2 separate regions of the Homo sapiens genome follow, and region 1 is linked to region 2. Evidence: promoter capture Hi-C in human tissues and cell types (Jung and others, 2019). All regions are on one chromosome and are shown on one strand. The core of a region is centred on a gene start or on the middle of the fragment in contact, and the rest is flanking DNA. Distances in the headings are between cores, read along the strand shown.

Region 1 (3,172 bases), core at 524-3,023, 1.3 Mb before region 2:
AAGAAAATGGGGGAAGGGACAGATCATGATGTTGTTCCTGATTTCAGGCTTTCATGTTTGCCTTGAAATGTGTGACTGAGCTCAGAGTCTATAAAGCTTTTGCTTCAAGAAGCAGTGAGTCAATATTTTTCTTACCCAAATCATTAAACATCATCTTGACCTATTCATTGGCCCAGCTTTTCTGTTTGGTCATTTCCCTTAGGTAACTTTTTTAAATAGGGAAGAATAGACATGAGAGAGACATTTTTATTTCCTTTAAATGAATGTTTTCTGTGATAATTAGAGGTGAAAGGCCATGTGTAATTTTTGTTGATGGGATTTTACCAGCAGAGTTTTCAGGAGTCCTGGACTTTCTGGTGGAACAGAAAGTCTTATATGTTTTGTTGTATTATATCCTTTTTTCCACCCTAAAAAATTAAACTTGGAGAAGTTTCGAGGCATAGGTAAGCTTGGGGTCATGAATTCTAAATGTAATTCTAAGTGTTCAAAAATGTTGTATTTAAAAAGCTCATATGTTTTTCTTTTTTTTTTTTTTTCTTTTTGAGTTTGTATTAAAAAAGTGTCTTGGCTTTTGTGTCTTTTAGCTGTATCCCTGTTATAAAAGTGGTATTTTACTAGCATGGCCTCATCACATGACCTTTGAACTTATTTACATTTGTTTAGTTAATTGACTCTTGGCTAATTTGGAAATCTCTAGATGGGGAAATAAGCTGTGGATCAGGGATCAGGAGCCAGGTTAAAGCTTTGAGTTCTCTGCTGTGCTGCCTGGCTGTGTGTTTGTGGGCATGTCCCAGACTCTGGTGTAGTCATCTCTAAATGGAAGCAATTCAACTACATACATGATTTCCAGCAAGGGACAGGGGCTTTATGAGCAGGTCATGTATCAGGATCTGGGGTGTGGGGAGCATGTGTAATCTGAGAATGCGCAGTATTGTATTTCCTTATTTGAAGAAATGGGAAAACTTTTTTAAAATGAGTGGCACAAAGTAAAGCATGATACGGTCTTGGCTGGTGGTTTACAAGGGATGGGAAGCACATGGGTCTAGCAGTTAGTAGCGGGTACTGCTGTTTAATAGCACTGTGTGCTGCTACAAACTTTTAATGTACATATGCTCTTATTTAAGCCTCAAAAATCCCTGTAAGGTAAGTACTATTGTCATATGAAGAAACAGAACAGAAAGGTTAAGAATCATGTTCAAGGTCATCACAGCAAGTGTGTGAGTAGATCTGGGCTCTGGACCCAAAACAAGCCTCCAGTCTTAGCTACCTTGCACTCATAGTCTGTTATGAATCAAGATCAATTTTATATGTATCTTACCTTCTGCAAAAAAGAGTTTTATTTGTGTGCAACTGGTATGACATTACCCCACAATCTTAGGTACACCAAAAAAATCACACTTTTCTTCAAATCCAATTAAGAGAGGCTTCAAGTTCCACTTGCAGAGATTGGTGAGGAGTTCAATATCAGTGGTCATTGCAGGAGTCCTTTTCTTTTTTTCTTTTTTTTTTTTTTTTTTTTTTTTTTGAGACAGAGTCTCGCTCTGTCGCCCAGGCTGGAGTGCAGTGGCGGGATTTCGGCTCACTGCAAGCTCCGCCTCCCGGGTTCACGCCATTCTCCTGCCTCAGCCTCCCAAGTAGCTGGGACTACAGGCGCCCGCCACTACGCCCGGCTAATTTTTTGTATTTTTAGTAGAGACGGGGTTTCACCGTTTTAGCCGGGATGGTCTCGATCTCCTGACCTCGTGATCCGCCCGCCTCGGCCTCCCAAAGTGCTGGGATTACAGGCGTGAGCCACCGCGCCCGGCCTGCAGGAGTCCTTTTCCAGGCACACATTTTGCTTAGAAAATTCTGAGACCTCAAATCCCCCTCCATCCTGGTAGTGCTGAACTGTTCACTGGCCAAGCCTGCATTGCCTGTTTCAGGGTGACCGATGACAGTGTGCATCTCTCCACGCTCCTCTTGGCCTCCGTGGTCCTTTCTGGGGCTCCTGAGGCCATGACTTTGAGGTGCTGGTTCCTAAGCGTCCACATGTCCACTGTTGTCAGAGGTTTCTACCTTCTCCTCCTGGGGAGCTTCATAGATGTGGAACCTGGTACTGATGCAGACACAGAATGCCACATGGACACAGAGCTTCTTGGGGGGAAGGGAAGTGTACCTTTCATTCCTTCATTATAAATTTATATGAACTTAGTTAATTTCTCTGACAAATTATTCTGTCTGTAAATGGCAACAAGACTCAGAATAACTGACTTTAAGCCATTTTATTAGTGTCCAGTTTACATTTCTCAGTGAAAATATCTAGTTGTCTAAACTGGGATAGCCTCAATTCATTACTTGTACTATCCCTGTGAACTTGGGTAAATGAATTGAGTTCCTTACGTCTCTGTTTCATGTTTTGCAAAATGGAAATAATAATAGCATCTATACTACAGAGGGCCCTGGGAGATCAGCTGTAACAAAGACACTGAGTTGTAGAAAGTCCGAGGTGCATTTGGGGAATGGCAATGGCAATCATTCCGGTTAGGTTGGTGCAAAAGTAATTGCAGTTTTTGCCATTACTAATAGCAAGCTGGAGGGGAGTGTACAGGTGGGTGGGGAAAGGCTAGAAGTGTGTAAATCCTCTTTTACAGAGTTTGGACTCACACTGGCCTTCTTTCCAGTTTTATTAACTGGAGTTTGTGTTCTGACTCAGACGTGTACTGAAATCCCTCTGATAAACTATTTTGTCCTATTTAGGATGCGACCGACTTTGAGTGGAGCTTCTGGATGGAATGGGGGAAGCAGTGGCTGGTGTGGCTTCTCCTTGGCCACATGGTAGTGTCTCAAATGGCCACACTGCTGGCAAGAAAGGTATGATTATATGTGTTGTTACCTTTTAAGTGTGTTTTTCCTTTGCTTCTTGTGAAGAAAGAGTCCAAGCTAGGAATCGGAAGACTTGGATATTAGCACTGGGAGCCTGGAAAAAATGATAAAGTTGTTAACAATCAATATAACATTTAAGATAAAAGTTCATAGTTCATATCCTGCACTTGCTTTCTCCAACTTATTTTCAGGCATTGAATATAAAGGTTGTAGTGTAAAACTAACCATGGAGGGTGGTGGTGGTCTTTAAGATCACTTCTAATCAAATGATCAAAAAGTTGCCTGTGGTTGAGAATCTGGATGAGTTCAC
Region 2 (3,132 bases), core at 370-2,869:
AACAGGGTCCCACTATGTTGCCCAGGCTGGTCTTGAAATCCTGGGCTCAAGTGATCCTCCCGCATCGGCCTCCCAAAGTGTTGGGATTACAGGTGTGAGCCACCACACTCAGCCTATAAATTGTTATTTTGATATAAAATATGGGTGTTGATTCACCAGGAATTTTCTAAAGTACTGTGGACCTACCAAACAAATACAAATACACTCTTCCATATTACTGATCCTAAAACAAGATGCTTAAAATAAATGAAACTAGACCAATTTCAGCTTACATTTTTAAAAGATTATGCTTACCTTTCCTTGGTTCCCTTTGTAATTACACTAGCCAGATCCCCTCCTTCACAATATTCCATTACAATGTACAGTGTTGTATTGGTCCGGTCAATAATCCGATCATAGTAACGAACGATGTTTGGATGTTTCAGTTCACGAAGCAAATTCACTTCAGAAACAAGCATCTGTTTCTCAGCTTCTGTCATGGAGCCATAGTCAAGTTCTTTCCAAACTAATATCTGAAATAAGAATTTCCAAGGTATGAATGAACTCATTATGCTCAAAAACAAAGAATGAAAGTTCCAAGATTTAACAAATTACCTCCCTTTTAATTATATCCTACAATCAAGGTCATTATCTAATTTAGTTCAATGAACTTAAGGAGCTGTGAGTTTACTTCCATAATCTTCCTCCAGTTCTAAGCAGTAAATGTATGTTGTGGGGAGACAAACGGGAATGAGGCACATGAGGACTCCCCCAACCCCTACCCTCAGTTGGTTAGTGGGAAGTTGGCTAAAAGGTACTATAGTCAAAATTGGGGTGAAGGTGGTCAAAGTCCCTGCCCCATTCCACCCCAGTCGTGTTTTCCCAGGATGAGACACCTTGGTAAAGATCCCTCCATCAGCAGCCAGGCAGTTTCCTGTCCAATGTTACTTTCTGTAAAAGTTCTACCTATATACATTGGGAAATATGAATCCAATAATCCTAATAATGGATATTTTGAGGGAGTCTGACTGCAGATACAAAGCTTCGGGTTCTGGTAGTCCTGCCCCTTTCTTGTGCCTGAGAGGGCCACTCTTAGAGCTCTAAAAACAGCTCAGGAATTAGTTACCTGTCACCAATGGAAGGTCCTTAGCAAGCCAAAGCAGGAGAAAGAGAGAAATGGGGAGAGAAACGGGAAAAGATGGAAATACATATATCAAAAGAAGCGGTCTCCCATCCTTTAAGCCACCCAGGACAGGCTGTCAGATGCAGACCCAGGAAAGACGGTTTAGTCTTCCGGGCACCCATTTCCTCAGCCCTGTCGGTTCCCTTCGGTGGCGCAGGGCGCTCGCCCCGAGGCGACGAAACCTAAGCAGGGGCAGGCGCAGGGTAGGTCCCACGCTCACCTTGCCATCACTCTTCCTCCGGATCTTCTGGCAGCGGCCGTAGGAGCCTGTGCCAATGGTGTACAACACTTCATAGTCCTCAGCCCGGGAAGGCATGGCCGGCCAGTCGCCAGAGTCGCGCTGCCTCACGCAGGTTGCGCCGCCAAGTGCGGAGCTCCAGGGACCAGGAACTCCAGGGACCTGGATGGAGAAGCCCCCGAGCAGCACTGACCCGCCACCCCTGCCTTGGGCCCCGTTTAACCGTCGCGGGCCCTGATCTCGCAGTCTATTGGCAGGCGGTGGGCCGCTTCGCCTCTCTCATTGGCTAAGAAGAACACAACAATACCCTAGGCATTTTGGGAAAAGTGTCACTAGGCAACCGCGTCGGCGTCTGCTTTTAACCTGTGGGAGAACCCGGCGAGCTAAGCCAAACGGAGGGCGGGAGAGAGGAAGCGGCAGCTGGCGCCTCTCGGCAACTCTAACCCTCTGATAGAGATCGCCAAGGTAACCGAGATCTAAGGTCCTCCCCTCAGGCTTCTTTGCACACCGCTTCCACCAGATGCCTTCTGACCTTTGCACTCTGGCCCCTCACACTACCTACTCTCCCCGGCACACGCATTCCTCGCTCAGGTTCCAGTACCCTGAACCTGGGTGGGGTCACGTTGAGGATATGCTGAGAGCTGAATACAAATTAGAAATACAGACTCCCGGGTGGGCGCGGTGACTCACGCTCGCCCGTAACCCTAGCACTTTGGGAAGCCGAGGTGGGTGGGTCGCTTGAGCCCAGGAGTTCAGACCAGCCTGGGCAACAGGGCAAACCTCGTCTCTACTGAAAATACGAAAATTAGGCCGGGCGCTGTGGCTCACGCCTATAATCCTAGCACTTTGGGAGGCCGAGGCGGGCGGATTGCTCGAGGCCAAGAGTTCAAGACCAGCCTGGCCAACATGGCGAAACCCCGTCTCTACTAAAAATGAAAAAAAAAAAAAAAAAAGTAACAGAGCATGGGGTTGCAGGCCTGTAATCCCAGCTTCTTGGGAGGCTGAGGCATGAGGAATTGCTTGAACCTGGGAGGCAGAGGTTACAGTGAGCCGTGCGCCACTGCACTCCAGCCTGGGCGACAGAGTGACACCCAGTCTCCAAAAAAAAAAAAAAAAGGAGAAATACTGTCGCTCTCCTACCAAGTACTTTACACGTCTTGTCCCGTTTATGTGTGCCAAATACACAATTAACCCTATCGACAATACTTCATTGAACACAGATTCTCTTTTACGCACCCACACACCAACGTTCTCAGCTTACCCAGCCAAATGAACAGCCCCATGTTTACCAGGGAAGGAGGACTTAGAGGCCTCCATCCAGGGCTTGTTAGAGGAATATGTAAATTACCAGAAAGCTAATAATTTGGAAATGCATGAACAGGCCAGTTTTCTTTAAATATCTGTTCAGCAAAGGATTAAAAGACACCTGATTTTCTATTAATAAGAATTTAAAAGCTCTTTATGTAAAAATAAGGGACTTATTACATGCCCTGAATATAACATAAGATAATTGGAATTGCCAACCAGGAGAATTTTTAAATTAACATTCAAGGGCACTGTCTTACCTCAGGGGAATAGGACCAATTTAGGTTTCAAAAGTTATGTAAGGCACTGCAAGTGGCTGTGTTAATTAGCATCATTTTTTTATTTTTGTGCCTCTTACAGATTGGTATCCATAGAGCTTGCTGTGGTTTGAATGTATCCCCCAAAGTTCATGTGTTGGAAACTATTC

The links. The method cuts DNA at HindIII sites, captures the fragments that hold promoters and counts their contacts. A contact is called where the count stands out against the background at its distance.
Region 1: a contact is called between a fragment that was not itself captured here and the fragment with the promoter of NEK2 in region 2, in 1 of the 25 tissues and cell types used here (aorta).

The regions. Positions count from the first base shown.
Region 1 is chr1:210,384,732-210,387,903 of GRCh38, forward strand. It overlaps HHAT (hedgehog acyltransferase), which reads left to right. Exons shown (of 12, transcript NM_018194.6): 4 at 2,737-2,850. Among named protein-coding and RNA genes, the nearest start is that of HHAT, 57 kb to the left of the region's middle. The HindIII fragment of the contact is 5,842 bases long and covers 1-3,172 here.
Region 2 is chr1:211,674,002-211,677,133 of GRCh38, forward strand. NEK2 (NIMA related kinase 2) reads right to left here and starts at 1,620. Exons shown (of 8, transcript NM_002497.4): 1 at 1,383-1,620; 2 at 295-512. The coding sequence starts at 1,478. It overlaps NEK2-DT (NEK2 divergent transcript), which reads left to right and starts at 1,761. Exons shown (of 4, transcript NR_148994.1): 1 at 1,761-1,865; 2 at 3,066-3,132. RefSeq lists enhancers at 1,324-1,583, 1,606-1,900. The HindIII fragment of the contact is 6,262 bases long and covers 295-3,132 here.